Regions from separate parts of the Homo sapiens genome. Here regions 1, 2, 3, 4, 6 and 7 are each linked to region 5. Evidence: promoter capture Hi-C in 16 types of primary human blood cells and fetal thymus (Javierre and others, 2016). All regions are on one chromosome and are shown on one strand. Each heading gives the region's core, a stretch centred on a gene start or on the middle of the fragment in contact. The rest is flanking DNA. Distances are from core to core; before and after follow the strand shown.

Evidence for each region. Contacts are between HindIII fragments. The CHiCAGO score rates a contact against its expected background, and 5 or more counts as called.
Region 1: a fragment that was not itself captured here is called in contact with the fragment with the promoter of C1orf53 in region 5 in 1 of 17 cell types (M2 macrophages); the score reaches 6.5 in M2 macrophages.
Region 2: a contact is called between a fragment that was not itself captured here and the fragment with the promoter of C1orf53 in region 5, in 6 of 17 cell types (M2 macrophages, M1 macrophages, total B cells and 3 more). The highest score is 7.8, in M2 macrophages.
Region 3: a fragment that was not itself captured here is called in contact with the fragment with the promoter of C1orf53 in region 5 in 2 of 17 cell types (M1 macrophages and fetal thymus); the score reaches 5.4 in M1 macrophages.
Region 4: a contact is called between a fragment that was not itself captured here and the fragment with the promoter of C1orf53 in region 5, in 4 of 17 cell types (M1 macrophages, M0 macrophages, activated CD4 T cells and 1 more). The highest score is 7.1, in M1 macrophages.
Region 6: a contact is called between a fragment that was not itself captured here and the fragment with the promoter of C1orf53 in region 5, in 4 of 17 cell types (M1 macrophages, monocytes, total B cells and 1 more). The highest score is 6.6, in M1 macrophages.
Region 7: a contact is called between a fragment that was not itself captured here and the fragment with the promoter of C1orf53 in region 5, in 1 of 17 cell types (erythroblasts). The highest score is 5.0, in erythroblasts.

The regions. Positions count from the first base shown.
Region 1 is chr1:197,605,118-197,607,817 of GRCh38, forward strand. It overlaps DENND1B (DENN domain containing 1B), which reads right to left. Exons shown (of 23, transcript NM_001195215.2): 13 at 1,956-2,057. Among named protein-coding and RNA genes, the nearest start is that of DENND1B, 170 kb to the right of the region's middle. The HindIII fragment of the contact is 4,151 bases long and covers 1-2,700 here.
Region 2 is chr1:197,587,584-197,590,283 of GRCh38, forward strand. All of the region lies in intron 14 of DENND1B (DENN domain containing 1B), which reads right to left. Among named protein-coding and RNA genes, the nearest start is that of DENND1B, 190 kb to the right of the region's middle. The HindIII fragment of the contact is 1,771 bases long and covers 466-2,236 here.
Region 3 is chr1:197,529,566-197,532,265 of GRCh38, forward strand. All of the region lies in intron 20 of DENND1B (DENN domain containing 1B), which reads right to left. Among named protein-coding and RNA genes, the nearest start is that of DENND1B, 240 kb to the right of the region's middle. The HindIII fragment of the contact is 3,130 bases long and covers 1-2,700 here.
Region 4 is chr1:197,558,870-197,561,569 of GRCh38, forward strand. All of the region lies in intron 15 of DENND1B (DENN domain containing 1B), which reads right to left. Among named protein-coding and RNA genes, the nearest start is that of DENND1B, 220 kb to the right of the region's middle. The HindIII fragment of the contact is 4,556 bases long and covers 1-2,700 here.
Region 5 is chr1:197,901,334-197,904,033 of GRCh38, forward strand. It overlaps C1orf53 (chromosome 1 open reading frame 53), which reads left to right and starts at 1,297. Exons shown (of 3, transcript NM_001024594.3): 1 at 1,297-1,580. The coding sequence starts at 1,317. RefSeq lists silencers at 1,182-1,331, 1,502-1,751. The HindIII fragment of the contact is 7,446 bases long and covers 1-2,700 here.
Region 6 is chr1:197,509,887-197,512,586 of GRCh38, forward strand. DENND1B (DENN domain containing 1B) reads right to left here. Exons shown (of 23, transcript NM_001195215.2): 22 at 1,842-2,058; 23 at 1-1,086. The coding sequence ends at 574. Among named protein-coding and RNA genes, the nearest start is that of CRB1, 240 kb to the left of the region's middle. The HindIII fragment of the contact is 1,416 bases long and covers 615-2,030 here.
Region 7 is chr1:197,400,924-197,403,623 of GRCh38, forward strand. The region is part of intron 5 of CRB1 (crumbs cell polarity complex component 1); the gene reads left to right. Among named protein-coding and RNA genes, the nearest start is that of CRB1, 130 kb to the left of the region's middle. The HindIII fragment of the contact is 2,913 bases long and covers 1-2,700 here.

The sequences.
Region 1 (2,700 bases), core at 25-2,524, 300 kb before region 5:
AATTTTTATCTATATTTTTAAATATTTCAGTTATGTTTATATTGTCATTTATGAGTAAATAACAAGATAGTCTCTTCTGTCATTTTATATATTCAGGCCTTTACATGTGTGAATATTATTTACTTCTCCATATATTTAAATACTTACATGTGTGAAATATTATTTAACTTCTCCATATATTTAAATAAATGTTCTAATCATCAAACTAATTCTACTAGGAAAGTAGTACTTTTCAATTTAAAAAAGAATCACCCATCAAAAAAATAAAATTTCAAAGATTATTTTTTCAAGAATCATCTATCATTGATTGAAGCTGCCTATAAAAATTTTAATATCACGTACAGAAAAGCTGAATTTCTTTCTCTTTTTTTTCTTCTTTCTCTTTTTAACAATCTTTCTCCCTAAGGCATTAACGGTAGGAAGTACATGCATATAAGGAAAGCATTCTTAAAAGTTGGGATTCTATTTTCATAATTATTTCTCTATCCATTGAATAATACTTTGATTAGTTTTTAAATGAGTAACTCTAATAATTTCTTTGTGATTTTGTTTTTGCAAAAATTTTATAATGAGGTAATCTAGTTATAATGAGCTAAAAAGATGTAATTTTTCACTGGCCTAGGATTAGATTTGTACATTCATAGCATAAGTTTTACTACAGTAAGATAAGGTAGTTGAATTTTAATATGTCTCAAGGTCAGCAAGTATTTTACGGTATTATGGGCATAAATAATCTGATTTTGACTTTAAAATCATATTTTTCCTATCATTAGACAGAAGGACAATCAAGGCTGGTATTAGTGTATTTTTGAGTTTAGGATTTTTAAATTCACTTTCTCAAACTCCTTAATAATGGATTTCAAAGTAGTTCAATATTACAGAAAAATATGCTCTGAAGGCATTTTTATTCCCAAATTTTAATATCCATATAAAGAATAAATGCTTTGTTTTTTTAAAAAGGAAGTTATTTTAACTTAGAACTATGTTATAAAGATATTTTTAAGTAGCCATTAAAATATATACAGAAACAGTACTAGTTTGCATTTTTGTCCTGTACTAAGGAATATGAAGGCCAAAAATAATGCACTTTTGGAGACTATTTAACGTGACATACAGAATATGTCCCATTATAAGCTGCAGACACACGCACACACACACACAACCCTCCGCAAGATCAAAGACCAGAAGAGAACTGGCACTTAATTTATCAGCCTTTACAGACAAAAGACAGTTTTCGTCATTTCAAAAGGATCAGATGTCTTTTATGACAAACTGGGTTTGCAGTTTAATTTACAAATAGAATTCTAAGTAAGCAGTCTTTGCTCTGCCAAAGCAAATGACAAACAGTGTAGGTTTTCATTCTTGCAGCCCTCAGCAGGATAGAAAAGATTAAAATAAAACTGAAATAATTTAGAGAAAACAAATAAATGTTTCAGAAAGTTGAGGGAGATCAAAGCCAGAATTTTCTGACCCCAACTGTACAAGCATTTCTTATTATATTGACCAGTAACATCAGATCATTAATTAAAAGGAAAAGCGCTGGCAGGTGGCAGGGAAGCAAAAGCCGATAATTGGCCCCCTTCTTCTTCTTGCCTTCAAAAACTCTCTCATTCTTTTGCAAGACATGCCACTAGGCAGACAGAAATGCCTACTTTGTAATATAATGATTAAGATGAGATGAAGAGACTTAGGTTTAAAGAAACTCTGCCTAATGAATGCATCTAGCTTTTTAATTATGATCTTACTTTTACAATAAGGAATATGATGTTCCATTCAAAATCTCAACTGCTAAAAGGTAAAAATATTAAATATAGAATCAACATTGATTTCTCTCACACCCCATGCAAATACCCAACCCTTTTATTTCAGATATTAAAAGTGGGAAAAATAACTTAGTAATTCAGAGGTCCAGGAGAAAACATATATGTTCACCACTGAATAGCCTTCATACTTACCACATCACTTGGTAGGTTGTTCAAGTCACTAAATGGTGATTCTAATGTGTTTGTATCAACATTTAACATAACAACATCTTCCAATGATTTGTTTTTCACTCTCTATAAAAAAAACACAATTATGAATACAAATCAGTATATTTACTTTACAAAGTTATGATGAGTTTGGAAACAGAAAACATTATCTTAATGCATTAGGCTTGGGAAAAGAAAAAAGGAAAATCCTATATTATGAAAGGATAGAAACAACTTTGCCTCCTGAGAAAGTCTGACTACAACTCATACGAAAAGATTTAGTAAAAATGCTTAAAATTGAATATTTCCTCATCTTATATTAAACATAACTACAACAAAAATTCTTATAAAATAGGCACAGTTATATCAAACTGTAAACAAATTATATTCTTTAAAATTTACCCATTTAAGTTCAGTCCCATGAAACAAGAATTCATGGCCAGCTCTATACCTATGTTTAGCATAAAGCATATTGCAAGGATAACATAAACCAATAACTATGACTACAGCATTAAACTATAATTTAAATTTTTTGTCTATATTCTATACAAAAAGGTATATGTTGGTGATGAGGACTGAAAGCTGAATAAGAGAGAATAAAAGGATAGCAATATGGAATTTATTGTTAGTAATATTTCTCACATGAATTTCAACAGAAGGTACCAAATTTAATAGCCTATCAGACTATCTTGACTTGTCCCATTTGTTTGAAAGTTTAATCAAAATAGTC
Region 2 (2,700 bases), core at 101-2,600, 310 kb before region 5:
TCTGTGAACTCTGGAGGTCGGGGACTAAATTCTTGATCATCTTTGCATTCCCTATGGCAGTGGTCCCCAAACTTCTTGGCACCAGACGCGGGTTTTGTGGAAGACAATTTTTCCACGGACCAGAGGAGTGGGGAATAGTTGTGGGATAATTCAAGCGCGTTACGTTTATTGTGTACTTTATTTATATTATTATTACATTGTAATACATAACGAAATAATTCTACAACTCACTATAATGTAGAATCAATCAGTGGGAGCCCTGAGCTTGTTTTCTTGCAACTAGATGGTCTTATCTGGGGGTAATGGGAGACAGTGACAGATCATCAGGCATTAGATTCTCATAAGGAGCATGCAACCTAGATCCCTCACATATGCAGTTCATAATAGGGGTTTTGCTCCTATGAGACAGGAGGTGGAGCTCAAGCAGTAATGTGAGCCATGGGGAGCGGCTGTAAATACAGATGAAGCTTCATTCCCTTGCCTGCCACTCACCTCCTGCCATCTGGCCTGGTTCCTAACGGGAGCTGGGGATCCCTGCCCTGCAGCACCCAACCCAGTACCCTGCATTTTGAGTGTTAAATAAATATCTGCTAGTTACTATATGAATTATTTATATAGAATAATTAAGCCACAAGTAAGTTATGGATGAAATACAGCTGTTTTTCTACCCTAGTATGCTGCTCAACTTCAGAGTGATAATCATTATTGACATAATGTTTGTGTTTGTTTGTTTTAAGAATAAGTATCTTTCAAGTTCTATATATTGTACCGGGAGTAGAAAACTTTGTAAGAACAAGAAAATACTTAAAACATAGATTAGATCTTATACTATCAGGACGTGTATGACTTAGCAAGAGTTCACTGTGAAAGAAAATTAGGGCATCAGAAAGAATGATAACGTAAAAAATGTGAAATATAATCCAAAACATCAACATTATACTTATTCAGTTCCTTAATGCACCTGGACTCAATGTAATGTCACCATTACAAAAGGAGTATAAACAAACTAAGCAAAAATGTCTGCATATTGATGGCTATTTTAAATTTAAAATATCTGAAAGACTCTGCTGTCAGATATCTCATGGGAATGTTCAAATATTTGCAGATTCTCACAGGAAATAATAATAAATGATTTTCAGGTTATACAGCATTTTTCTTCTACATGTCCCAATGCTATTATTATGTAAGATACAGCAACTCTACTTTCAGAGTATATTAACCATGGAAACAGTAATTTTCTTCCATTGTTGGCACTTTAGCTAGAAGTCAATGAAAAAGAACCTCACAGTCAAACTATAAAGTTTAATCATCAGCATCAAAATATTCTATTTGTACATATTATTTTATTACTTTATCCTCAAGTTGCTGGATCTGTCTTGAAAAAAGAAAAACTACAGCTACCTACTAATGTTCTATTTACCTATGATTCAGCAACTTAAGACAGAAAAAGGAACTAATTTTTCTAAATTAGACATTGCTGTTTCTAGCTTTTTGTGTGAATTTAAATACTTAGAAAAAATTAATAGATTGTGCATTAACTTTGTTCATACTATTAAAAATTACATTTTTCTTCCCCACAACTTAAGGCAATAAGAAAAACACTCTCCATTCTCATAAAACATATCAGTGATATATAAATGGAACACTTACTACCCAAGTCCCTAGTTCTAACTATTCCAAAGTACTTGAGGAGAAACTGTATATTATTACTGAAGCAATTAAGCAAAATTCTCTCCCTACTAATTAGAAATGAGCAGAAAGAAAGTGCCATAAAACAACTTTTATCCATTAAAAAGCCAGATGCACACCAAATATTTCTTTGGTGGTAACCATCTCTCAAGTCAACAGGTCTATCTGTGCTCAAGCAAGAGAAATGACATGAAAGGATGTGTAAAATGTTTTAGTAACCATAAAACTGTGAGTAGTACTTTTCAACTTGGATTTTTAAAACTCTAATAAGTTGACAATTACAAGTTTCTTAAATGTAAATGTTAAGACAAAGATTTAGTGAATGGCCTTTTAAATTATGGATGCCAACCCTGTGTTTAAATTGCTTGAGCTTAATCACTAAATACAACAACATTACTTACTGATAATGTTTTAAAGAAAATAATCAAAAAATGTTTGAAAGATAACTCCTCCACCTTGTCAAACGGAGGACCGGATTACTAACCAATCTTTATTCTTAAAGTAACTTATTTTTTATCCATTAGCAAGGTTCAAGGCAGCCCAGGAAAGCTTGAGTGATGGAAACACATGACAGCACCTTAAGCATTAAAGGGAATAAACTTGAGTGTTACTTCTGTGCTCTCAGGCAGGATAATCAAGTATGTCTTTGAATATACTAAACAATATTTTAACTCAAACAAACATTTCTTCAGCATTAGCTGTTATTTAAAAATTTGACTTATTTTTTTATAGCTTCTGACACAAGTGATACAAAGAGGTATAACTAAAGACCATTTCTTAGTTATTTAATACAATCATTTAAAAGTATTGTCATGTTTAAGGCAGTGTTTTCCTTTCTGGAAAGATGCTTTGTTTGTGGTTATGCTAAAGGGATTTTCCTTACTAAATCTACTGATTTTAATATTTTATTTTTAATAATGACGACGTAAACAGCATTTACTACATGGCAATCCAAGAAGCATCATTACTTTTTTTTAACAAATGCGAACACCAAAGCACTAATAGGTTAAT
Region 3 (2,700 bases), core at 187-2,686, 370 kb before region 5:
CTGTGAGTCTCATGAAGACACACAGAAACATACACATTATAACTGCTAGACTAAGCCACGCATGGCTAATATGGAGCAATATCTCAGATATATATAACTTTTACATATTATTTAAAGAAATTTCTTATTCTTAGAAAAGAAAATGTTAGTAAATGTTTACAAGTAAGTATTTTTAAACATAATCTCAGATTATAGATTTATGTTATCTTATATTTTTCACTAAGTCTCCAGTATTCTATTCTAAAATAAAACTGATGAAAGAACATAAGTACATAGGATTAAGACTGTTCTGCACCATGACCAGTGGCTATATTCTCAGTGGACTCACTGGCCCTGTTTTCAATAAAACCAGAGAAGGATCCTTTCCCTGGAGTCCTGTTAGGCTGGGGCTGCTGTTGGAACTGTCATCTTTACACAAAAGGGAAAAGGGTTGGGTTTTACAAATGTGGAGCCTAATTGGGAGATCTTCATGGCTGTACCCTTGACATTTATTTAAGCCTCATCAACAAAACGAGCAACAGCCATACTAATTAGCAGACCAGCACACAAATTACTATTTGTTGGATGTGGACTATAGATTCACAATCTATTCCAAAGATAAGCTAAATAATGGAAAACAGGTTTAAAACACAGGCTTAGAACTTTGTTCTTTTCTACAGCACACAGATTGTAAAACTTCATAATGTTTTACTTTAAAATACATTCTTGGAATTTAAATGATCATAATCCCATTTTCATCTTTTGAAAAACAGATGAAAATAAAGTCTCTCACTGACAAGTCTAGCTGGAAACTGGAAATGTAAAGTTCTTTAGACAACTGAGATCCACTTCTGAAATGAATAATCAAATGGACTAGGAATAGGATGAGTGAAGACTATACTCAATTTTACTCACAATAAAATGACATACTCAAGGTCTTCTAAACTTATAAATAAGATATTTCTTGGTACAATAAGTTTTATATTTCTATTCAAGTCATAAACTGGGATCTATGATCATCCCTACTTAGAATGAAGATGGATAATTTTAGGAGTCCTAACTACTTTAGTGATTAGAGATTATTAGTGATCCTGGACTATAACTACCAAGAGAGAAATCAGATGGTGCCACTGCTACAGAGACCTGGAGTTCAAGATATATGATATGGTAACCATAAACAAACAGCTACCGATTATCAAGTACTTATTATGTGGCAGATATTTTATATACATTATCTATAATGCCTATAGCATCCTGGGAAAATAACTTGTATTATTATTTTACAAATGTAAACATTAAGGCTTAGGGATATTTTGTTTTGCTCAATGTTAAATCCTAGTACCTTTTTCAAAGTTAAGTTCTGTCTGGCTCTAAACTCCATATCCTTATTTCTAACTATCCCTCTTCTACAATCACTCCATCCAACATAAAGGCATGACAATAGTGGTTAGGTACCTAAGTTCTAGAATCAGTCTGCCTGCTTTTTAATTCCTATTCTGCTATTTATTACTTGTAGAACTCTGGGCACATTTATTAGTCTCCATTTGTTTCTAAATCTGAAAAACGCGGATAATAATTCTTGCCCTGACTGGATTGTTGGAAGTTTTAAATGAATCACGTAAATACAAACATACACAGACAGCCTCACTGTTATCAAAAAACTGTCCATCTTTTCCAGGTCTTCTGAGGCTGCTCTAGGGCATTTTTCTACTATTTCAACTGTATAAAAATTGAAGTTTGAAAAATAGTAGTAGGAACATGAAAATTATCTAGATTACAAAAATCACAAAGGTCCCTGCAGAAATTTGCCTTTAGGCAATTAAATTCACCACATAACAAATCTTTTTTTTTTTTTTTTTTCTTTTTTTTTTTTTTTCATTTATTTTTATTTTATTTTATTTTATTTTTTTTATTATACTCTAAGTTTTAGGGTACATGTGCACATTGTGCAGGTTAGTTACATATGTATACATGTGCCATGCTGGTGCGCTGCACCCACTAATGTGTCATCTAGCATTAGGTATATCTCCCAATACTATCCCTTCCCCCTCCCCCAACCCCACCACAGTCCCCAGAGTGTGATATTCCCCTTCCTGTGTCCATGTGATCTCATTGTTCAATTCCCACCTATGAGTGAGAATATGCGGTGTTTGGTTTTTTGTTCTTGCGATAGTTTACTGAGACTGATGGTTTCCAATTTCATCCATGTCCCTACAAAGGATATGAACTCATCATTTTTTATGGCTGCGTAGTATTCCATGGTGTATATGTGCCACATTTTCTTAATCCAGTCTATCATTGTTGGACATTTGGGTTGGTTCCAAGTCTTTGCTATTGTGAATAGTGCCGCAATAAACATACGTGTGCATGTGTCTTTATAGCAGCATGATTTATACTCATTTGGGTATATACCCAGTAATGGGATGGCTGGGTCAAATGGTATTTCTAGTTCTAGATCCCTGAGGAATCGCCACACTGACTTCCACAATGGTTGAACTAGTTTACAGTCCCACCAACAGTGTAAAAGTGTTCCTATTTCTCCGCATCCTCTCCAGCACCTGTTGTTTCCTGACTTTTTAATGATTGCCATTCTAACTGGTGTGAGATGATATCTCATAGTGGTTTTGATTTGCATTTCTCTGATGGCCAGTGATGATGAGCATTTCTTCATGTGTTTTTTGGCTGCATAAATGTCTTCTGAATAGACCAATAACAGGCTCT
Region 4 (2,700 bases), core at 182-2,681, 340 kb before region 5:
AAAATTAACATTCACTATTCAAATTCATTTTTTAAATACAATTAAATATAAAATGAATGTTTCAAATATGTAATATAAAGAATAGACTCCATAGGAGGCTTCTTTCCAAAAAATATAAAGAATATGTTTTGATCAAAGTCACAGATTACACTTCAATATAGCTGCCAGTAAACTGGTAGGAATGTATATGTCCTCTAAGAGATAAGTCATATGCCTTTTACAATTCTTTAATTATTTACCAGTCAGTGTATTTCCAGCATTGAATCTAAAAATCCTAAAACAAGTTATGCTATTATCAGTGTTCTAATTCCCTTAGTGGTCTAGACACATGTTATATAAATATTTAATTGCAATCACTCCATCAAAACTCTATGACAACTGAATTTCAGGATTCTAGTATCATTTTAAAAGAAATATTTGATCTTTTTTAAATCCTTATAAAAAAGATTCTGGTAGAGAGATGAGGCAGTGGTGCAATTCTCTGCCGAGCTGAGGAAGTAGCAAGATTCAGTGTTGTTTTTTGTGTTAACATGGCAGTCCTGTTACTGAAGCAAAGCTGCAGAAGTGCTGAAGCAACACAATAAACAAATCTACACACCCAAATTCCTTCTTCAGCCTGGAGGAAACATTACCATGGCTCAGAAATTTATCTCACATTAGAAACCCTTCTTAGGTACAAAGATAAGAGGTAACTAATAGATTCAAGTCTTGAGAGCTAGAGAAAAATAGTTTTAAAAATCAATCAGCAATTTAAGGAAAAATAAATACAGTAAAAAATTGCTTTCAAAAATAAACTAATTTCTTATGAATCTTTAAAATTTGCCTTTTTATATAATGCTCCGGGCTAAAAATTTAATAAGTCTAATTTAAATATTTCTTCTTAGAAATGTTCAGTAAACCTTGACAGGTTAGTGAAAACTACACTGAAGTGTTACAATAAATTACATCAACAGATATTTATAGACACCTGCTAAATGCAAGCCATTCAGTTAGTAGCTATATATAAACACAAACTGCCTACAACAAGTGGGAATAAGCAAGGTAGGTCAGCTCAAACTAAGAAAATTAAGTATGTGGGAGAATAGAAATAAATTGTTATTTTTATGCCATTAGGTAATGAGATGACTATCAGGCTCCAGTATACTAAATTAGACTACCATGGTATCATGAACAGGAAAACACTATGAAGAGTATTAAGAGCCCACTCAGTGCAATGTACTATTAAAACTAATAACCTAAAATAACAGTAATAAGACAACAATACTACTTTCAAGGATATGTCAATTGACATTAAATAATGTGCTAAAGAATTTAGTCTGCTGAACCTTATGATCACCAGACCAAAAGAATCAACTAATTATATTATTCAGGGAATATTTCGCTGAATATATATGCTATATTCCAGGCACTTTCCTAGACACCTGAAATACAGGAATAAATGAAGCAGGCAAAAATCCAAGCCCTTGTGATGCTTAAACATGTAGCGGAGGTAGGGGAAGAGAGTTTTAGCATGAAATAAGAAACAACAAATGATGTAGTATGTGAGAAAGTGATGAGTGTTAGAGAATAAGATAGACTTCCTAAGGGAAGTTAGGAAATCTAGGGCAAGGAACTTTCTATTTTAAATAGTGTGGTCAGGGTAGGTCTCATGAAGACAGCATTTAAGCCAAGTCTTCAAAGCCATGAGGAGGTTTAATGGGAAAAGAGGATTCCAGGCAAAGGGAATAGCCAGAGTAAATACCCACACTGGAGTAGGAACAGGCAGGTACTCAGCAGGCCTGTGGCAGGCTCCATGTATCAGGAGAAAATCCCATCAGCCATAATGACTATTTGCACTCAAAATTTATAAACCTCAACCTCCAATAGGATTTGAATACCAAGCAATTCTATTTTACTTTGCAGTCACTCCATTCACTCTCCCCATCCATTTCACAATGTCCTATCTTCTTTCTCCTTAAATGTTTAACGACCTCTCCCATTCTCCTTCAGTTGACGATCTTTCTTCCTAATTTCACCAAAAAAGAGAAAATCGAAGTAATTAAAAGAGAAATTCTACAAGCTCTAAGTCACACATTTACCTACCTCACCCATCTGCGCTCACAGACTGCCTTTTCTCCTGTTATGAATAAACTGCCTGTGCTCTTGCAAAGACTAACTTCTCTAACAATTTTTCCTTCTCTCTTCTGAATATAGTTTTATTTCTTAACTAGATCTTCCCAGCAGCATACAAACATGTTATTTCTTCTCTTGACCCCACTTACTTCTCTAGTTATGTGCTATTCCATTCTTCACAGCAAAATTCAAAAGAGCTGTCAGTACTTTGTGTCTACGTCCTCTCCTCTCATGCTTCAATCACAATTTCTGTCTCACCACGTCAGCAAAATTGCTCTTGCTAAGGTCATCATATATCCATGGTTACTAAATCCAGTAATCAATGCTAGGTCCTTGTTTTAATGAGCCTGTCATGAGCATTTGACAGTGTTGATCCCTCCCTCTTTGGTATTCTTGTTGGCTGCTAATATAAAGTACTCTTCTGGTTTCTGTCCTACCTAATTGTTCATCCACTCTTTCATAACCTCCGTTGCTAGTGCCCTCTTATACTACTTTCTTATCATTTCTATTTATACTTTTTCCTTTGGTAATCTCATCTAATCTACATGCTGATGGCTTTAAATTCTACCTACATGCTGATGACTCCAA
Region 5 (2,700 bases), core at 47-2,546:
ATGTCATGGCCTATTAGTGGATCCTGATCCTTAATTTTAAAGACAATGCAGTAAATCAATCTCAGGTTTTTGTTGGTGCGGGGACCTGACTTATGGTGAATGTGAATAACATCACAGTTGTTCATTTTTGGTGATCTCATGTTTGGTCCCACTCTTCCACAGCTTTCTCTAGGGTCCCTCCTTCGCTTTCCAGATTTTAAACTCTCCTCAGATTACTTAACAGTCTCCAGATCCTAATTTTTTATTCCAACAAAAAGAAAATCAATTTGCAAAATATAATACCAATTTATTAATTCACTGAGATTTTTAATGAACCAATAGGGTTGTTTCAATCACCTCCTACTAAGATTTAAGAAAATGAAAATATGACTACAGGGTTGCATGGTAAACACAGAAACCAAAAAACACGTAGTGATGGTCTATAGTGGCTTAGTCGCCTTTCTCCTGTACAACTGAATAATCTACTTTTGTCCTCAAAGATCAATTCCTGCCCTCCCAGTATTGAAGAGCACTAACAAAATTGGTACTCTTCAGCCCTCCTTTTCTTGAAACCCAGACGGGGGGTAGGAAGATGGGGTGGTGTTAATTTAATCCTAACACCTGAAATTACTTCCCGGGCTTGCCGTAATTTTCTCAAATACAATTATGTGACGGTATCAAGATCACTTTCATCCATCAGAAAGGAGATAATAGTTTTAGGTTGGATTTTGTAAATATTCAGCAACATGAACACAACACCTTTTCTTATTCAGTGTGCGATTTTACTTTTGGCCCTTATTCTAGGGTGGGCCAAAGAACCAAGCAAAGAAGGCTCCGCTTCCACCTTTATTCCTATCACATACTACCTGGAAACACTCAGCCTTTTCTGGATAGGCCCAAGGTGGTTATTCACAAACCTCGGGTCTTTTGATCACTTTCTGGGATCTTAACAGTTGTGGAGATTATACTGAATGATCCCAAGTCCAGTCTGACATAACAAAAAATGTCCACCTTTCAGCTGGGTGGGCGCGGGGGAAGAAGGAAGAGCTTAGAATTTAAGTCCAAAGATGTGGAAACACCAGGCTCTTCCCCGTCCAGGCAGCTCATCAGAGCCTCGTTAGCTGCCTTAAAAGCCCATTTTATTTCCGCAGCGGGCCCGCTGGTGAAGGCAGAAGGCTCAGTCCGTCCGCCTCCACCTGCTGCCACGGCAGCGCGAACCGACCCCACGCAGCGATGGCCACGAGCTGCCCAAGACCGGCTCGCCGCGCCCAGGCCCGCGTTGGTCGCCCCTCCGGGCCCCAGCGCCGGGTGCTCCGCCTCCCAAGGCCGGCGGCGGCATGGCGGCCAGGCAGATCTGGGCACGGACGGGTGCCGCGCTCTGCAGGCAACCTTCCGCCGCCCCGCCGCCAGCACCTCTCTGGGTAAGAGCTGGGTTCCGACAGCAGCTCAGCTTAACCCTCTGCCCTGCTAACGAGGGAAACTGCGGCGGCTCCGCGCCCAGCACGCCCGGTAGGCCGGAGAGAGCGGCGAGGCCTTCGGTGAGCGAAGAGTTAACCGCGGCGGAGCGACAGATCGCGGAGCTGCACGCTGCCGCCTGCGCGGTGAGACTCCCTCCTGCCCGCCCCGCCCCGCCGCGGCCGCCCCGGGCTCGGCGCGCCTGCGCATCCCGGGCCTCTCCGGACCCGGAGGCCGCCCGGCAGAGGCAAAGGTTGCTGGATACCGGTGCGGTCCTGCCTCGGGCGACATTCGCGCACGCACACGAACTTCCAGCCCCGACATTTTCGCGGGAAACCTGTGTCTGTCTTGAGTATGAGTGTGATTTGTTTTCCGATCAGCGTCCGAGCTAAACTCCGGTCGCAGTGTGGGACCCACTACCACTCTTTTGTGGTGTATGTGTGTGTGTGTTGCGGAAGGGGGTGTTAAGGAATTGATGGAGAAGGTGGAGGGACTGAGAAGTCACAACAAAAATGTGTTGTGTGTTTTTCTGCATTGTCAGTTGAACACTTAGCAATCCAGTGATTCTTAGAGTGAGAAAAAAAGACATTGACACATTTATTTTAATTTTTCCATTGCCTTCTTGTCCTTTCTCTTAACTCTTAACGGAGCAGAGGGAACTACAATCTGGCATTTGTAGACACTCAGCTGTTTTCTCCTGTTTTGCGGATTTGACAATTGTCTGTTAGTACCAGTATCTAAACTTCTCTCCCTTTACGCCTTCTAACACAGTCTGCGTGAGTTTAAAGGCAGCATGGTTACCTTTACAAAAGAAACAGTGAGAAAAAAAGAGAAACTGACTATAATAAAGATAGAAAAGCAGTATGAAATGAACCCATTTAATAAGCTATGTGTGTGTGCCTCCAGTACTTGATGGGACTAATATTATATGGTATGACTTGAGCCAAAGGGGTAGAGAAGAAAATCCCGGAGGTTGCCTAAAATTGACTTATTTAAATAATGACAGTTAGTAGGCCCTGAGAATCCACTGTCGGTCTGACCCATTCAAGTGCTGAAACTGAATAAAGACTCATTAGGAAGTGACTGGCAGCTTTTGATTGTTCTTGTTTATGCTCTCCTTTTAAAAATAATGTATATAATTTGTTCTCATACTTCGCAATATAGATATGGTGGATATTAAAGAAAAGTGTCATTCTCCTTAGAGCAAACACCAGTATCATGTGAAGAAATTTTCAATCAGTCTAGGGAAGGAAAGGAACTTTTTCT
Region 6 (2,700 bases), core at 73-2,572, 390 kb before region 5:
TTTTAATCTTGAAAAGATGAATTTTGACCTTGATTTGATGAATAGAAAAAGGCATTATTGCTCTGCAGAACACTAATAACTTATCCTTCAAACTTTATACATACTTTCATACATTATTTAAGTATGCTTAAAAAACAGCTTTAAGATTAAGGCAATTAGTGGGTTAACAGTTTCATCAGCTTCAGGCTAGTTTTGATAAGTTTTGATATCTTGATCAGTTCATGCTCAACCAGATTAGTATAGTAGCTACTGGTTATGTGCATGGGTTACATATGCATTCTTAGCTTAAATAAAATAAACGGCATTAAGCACCAAACACTGGGAAATCTCATGGTCAATACATACTTTAAACATACATACACACTAGTACCTGATTTAAAAGCACAGTAGAATTCGCTTTATATTTAAAAATCAATGCATTTCATATATCCTCGAAATGAACAAGTGAGAAAAATGTTGCAAATGCAAAAAAAAATTTAAATAGTATGAGTTGCCATTCCTACAAATAATTCTGTTTATTATACAGATTGCATTGAATCTCAAAATGTCTCCATAGAAGCTTGGATGCAAGATTTAAGTTTGGTTTCCATTTGTGTTTTTGTCTGAAATGTTCAAGCTTTGTTGGAAGTCAGATGTCATATGACATAATGACACTACTTCATGGAGCAGTCCAATATCTTCTGAAGTCTCTTTGGCTTCTTTCCCTTCTTTCTCCCAAGGAACAAAAGTCGATGAATGCCGCCCAAGACCGGGTATAAGCAGATCATCTGAAATCTGGCTTAGTGTTTCCCTCTTTTCTGTTTTTCCTTTATCAGTCTGGGAAACTTCAGGGGAAGTGAGTTGGAAATCCAGTCCTGAAGTAGGGTCACTCACATTGTCAGCACCGAGGTGCTTGTTACTGTTTTCCTCTTTCAGGATAAACAGAGAATCTGTCAAACCACTAGAGGAAACCCGCTTCCTAGGAGATGGAGGGAGGTGTTTGCCATGGAGGGCACTATCGTCTTGCCCAAGATTCCACTCTGCTTGGTCACCAGAACCACCACAGAGGAAAGCCAGGTTATTCTCACTAGGAGCATTAGATTTATTCTGAAAAAAAGAAGAAACAACAAACTCAGAAAACTTTTAATAAGCATTAATTTAGTTCTTTTTTCTCTTTTGAAATAAATGTTAATAGCGTTAAGTTCCTCCCAGAGAAAATACAGCATTGAGAGTCAATTTTAAACATTTCCAAATGGCTCTATTAACAGGGATGAAATGGAATGGACTTTGGTTTCCACTGCCTTGCAGCTGTCACCTAACAAATTCAAACTAGATTATATAATTAATGCCAAGTTCTGAAGTCACTTACTATCAGAACAGGATTGTCATTACTCATACTTCTATCTCTGCTGTTTTTAAGCATTCAGTTAAATTTGCATAAAATAATGTTAAAAAATAAAATCATGTTCATTTTTGGGTAAGAAAAATGATTTGAATGAATACATTTACTGAAGTTTTTTTGAAAACTCAGGAAATATGGGGAAAAAGTGAAAACATTTCACATTTTAAAAATTCCCCAGAGACAAGTATAAAATTAGGTTGCAAGAAAACATTATTGCTTGACAAAATAATTTCAATTAATGACAATAACCACTAGAACTAGATAAATGAAAGGGAAAATACTAGAATTTTAATAATAGAAATAATTTCTAGTGATTAAATTTTATCATATTTTTGAAGTTTTGACCCTTACCTACTTAGAGGTTAAATGCTTCTACCAACAAAGAGTATAAGATCCAGTAATCACAGCCAAGGCAAGAATATTTTCTTCTAATTTTATAAGTAAAAAAAAATCTACTAACCGTAGGTTTGTAATCAATGTCATCCATTGATCTAAAGAAATCCAAGCTCTTTGCAGCTGCCAGCTTCCCCTGATCTGAGCTGTGTGTGCTCAATGTATCAAGAATCTCTCCTAGTAAGTCCATTTCACCTGAGTAAGGAGTCTTCACTCTTGTTTCAACAGAGTCATCACTCTCATAGAGATAAGCAGAAGCTTCTTCACCATCTTCAGAAGATAACCTGAAGAAAAATAAAACACGCAGTAGTAGGTAAATAACCATATTTGCTGCATGTAAGTAATCTCTCACCAGTTACATTACATTAATGAGAGAGTTAACAACAAAATCAATAATTAGTTCATCACCAAATTCTTTACCGTGATGTGTATACTAATTCCAATATGGAAATATTTTGTGCATGCATTAAGAACAAATAAAAAGTTTACGGTACCTTATGAAACTGAAAGTAGAAGCAGGGCTTTTCACAGTTTAATTCTGTGGAATTTGGGACCTTTACTTTAGGAATATTAGACTGAACTACTTGGAAAGTCTGCTATAGCCTAAATTCACTTTCAATATTTAATATGGTTTTCCTTTATTTAATCACTTATTTTAGAGGAGAATGCATATTCCTTTACATAGACAGAGATATAGTTAATGAAGAAAAAAGAATGTTCATTTTGTCATTGTCATACATCAATTGTAAGAAGCTAAACATATATTATTTCCCTTATATTAAAATTAATTTTTAACACTTTTTATTAAATTTTCATCTTCTGATATCACCATAGACTTAAGTCTACTGTACCCTCAATTCCATTTCTTTCTATTGACTATTATCACCATTCCTGATATTTAACCTTCCTCTCTTCAGAATGAGTAA
Region 7 (2,700 bases), core at 54-2,553, 500 kb before region 5:
CTGCTTTCCTTCCCTTCTTTTCCTCTCTGTTTTTCTCTATTCTTCCCTTCCCCAACACACACATACATATACACAGAGAAATTGAAATTATATTATATATAGTTTTGTATCCGAATAAATTGCTACCTCACAATATCTTTAAACTTCCTTTTTGTAATACAATTTTTGAGTCCTTGCCTTTTACTGCTGTGTTTAAGCATATATATAGCTATTATTATACCATTTGTAGTGCCTTGCTCCTACCTTCTCATTTTCTGTTATTGTAGAGTGTGGGTTTTTTTAAATTGGTGTTTTAAAAATAATTTTTGTATTTTTTGTATATTATTTTGTTGATGTTTATCTCCACCAGTGTTCTGGAATTTCCATATTTTGTTTTCATTAGGCTACTTTTAAACTTAAAAACATTTTTTAAATGTTTTAATCTATTCTCCTCTAATTACCAAGGTCAAAGTGAAATCATATTGTTTTGATTGCCCACTATGTAAGACAAAGAATTTAGCATGTTTTAAATAAAATTTCATCTTTTCCATGATAGCATGGTCTTTGCTAACATAATCATGAGCTTGGGAACAAATTGTTGTCATCCAATTATTATTTTAACATTTTGGAAATTTATTTTTGAAGAATAACCTTGAACAATTTGTCGTATTTTGTGTCTTCTGTTTTGCAAAATGATTTAGCCATACTTTCAAATTGAACTGGTTTTAATGTTTATGACCAGTTCTTTAATAATCTGCCCACTAATATTTGATAATGTACTATTTTATGCTATTTAACTAATATTCTTCCCAATGATATTATAATTTTTCCCTTAGTCACATGAAGTTTATCTTTAAGTATTTTTAGGCTATGCACTTATCATAAGTAGTATCTCTTTCTGTTATCTACAAATTTGAATGACAGTTTCTCTGTGCACAGAATTTCAGGGTCTCAGTCTTTTATATTCAAAATGTTTTAACTTTAATTCTATTATTTTGATATTCTTTTGGCATTTATTTGTATCTTTTAAATTTGTTTATTTTTATGTCTTTTAAAATATTTTAATATAAATTAATATTTTTATGTTTTCCTTGTATCCACAGTTAATTTTTATTATTGTTTTTCTTCTTTTTGTTTTGTTTTCTTTTTAACTTTTATTTTGGGATTAGGAGTACATGTGCAGGTTTGTTATACAGTTAAACTCGTGTCACAGGAGTTTGTCGCACAGATTATTTTGTCATGCAGGTGCTAAGCCTAGTACTCAATAGTTATTTAGTTATTTTTTTCTGCTCCTCTCCCTCAACTTACCCTCCATCCCCAAGGAGTCCTCAGTGTCTGTTGTTCCCTTCTTTGCGTTCATGAGTTCTCATCATTTAGCTCTCACTTATATGTGAGAACATGCAGTATTTGGTTTTCTGTTCCTGCATTAGTTTCCTAAGGACAATGGCCTCCTGCTCCATCCATGTTCTCACAAAAGACATTACCTTGTTCTTTTTTATGGCTGCATAGTATTCCATGGTGTATATGTACCACATTTTCTTTATCCAATCACAGTTAATTATTTCATCATTATTTAGATGTATGTCGTTTAAAATTAATGTTGACTAAAAGATAGTCATCCATTTTAATATGCTGTCTCCTGTCTTATTCAACAAGAAAAATAGGTCAGCTGTCTTTTATTGTTAATCCACTTCAAAGTATTTTGATTTCTCTCTCAGTTACATTTGAAATTTTAAGGTCTAATTTCTGTTCTCTAGTCCCTTTATCTCTGGGATAGTTTCTCAGTTTTGTTCTCTTATCACAGATGCAGTTTTAAAATTTTTATTGAAGTACAATAAACAAAAAATTACATAAACCAAGTATTTAGCTTAATGAGTTCTCATCAACTAAACATATCTGTATAACTAATTCCTAGATCATACTGCTTTGATTATCTGCAGTACCAGTTTTCCACTTTTCTGCCCCCAATGTAGATTTTAATAGCACTATTGCAATGCTAGTTTTAGTTTATTCTTGTTATTTTACACTGCATCCTTTTCTTCTCTGTCTGTAGTCCTTAATCCCATCCTGTTGTCTTTTCAGTTATTGTTTTCATTTTTGTGTCTTTTTACTTTATTTCCACAGAAATCAAGTTTTCACACATATTGTCATGAAAATAATGTAGTATTCTAAAATGTTCTTGATGTTTTGTTATAAGCCAGATTTTGGGTTTTCTTCCTTTAGCTCTTTAGCGTTATGTTCCCTTTCTTTTGTGGAGCACTAGGAATACATAATGTATGTATGTATATGTATAGATACTCAAACACACAACATGTGTCTGTCCAATCATCATGTATTCCCTCTTGCTTTACCTCTTCATAAAAGAACAGTGGTTTCTTTAATAACCTTCTTTTCCTAGCAGCCAGGTACATTAGAGGAGGCTGACTTCATTCTCAGTTCCAAAGAATAATCCTCTTTCCTCCCACTTCTTGCCATTGATCCATTTAGAGATGAATATGAGTAAAGGTTTGCTGATGGCTTCTCGGGAAGTTCTCATTTGTTCTTTAGGTAGAGACATCAGGGGGACGTGAATGAGGAAGCATGTAGATAGAGTGCTACTTGCAACCATCCTATAACTTCAAAAATGTCTTTGAGGTAAAGCTGAAACTTTGACCAGTGAAGTGAAGAAGTGGTAGATATCTGAGTTCTTGATCTTTTTGAGTCTTCAAGATAACCCTGCTG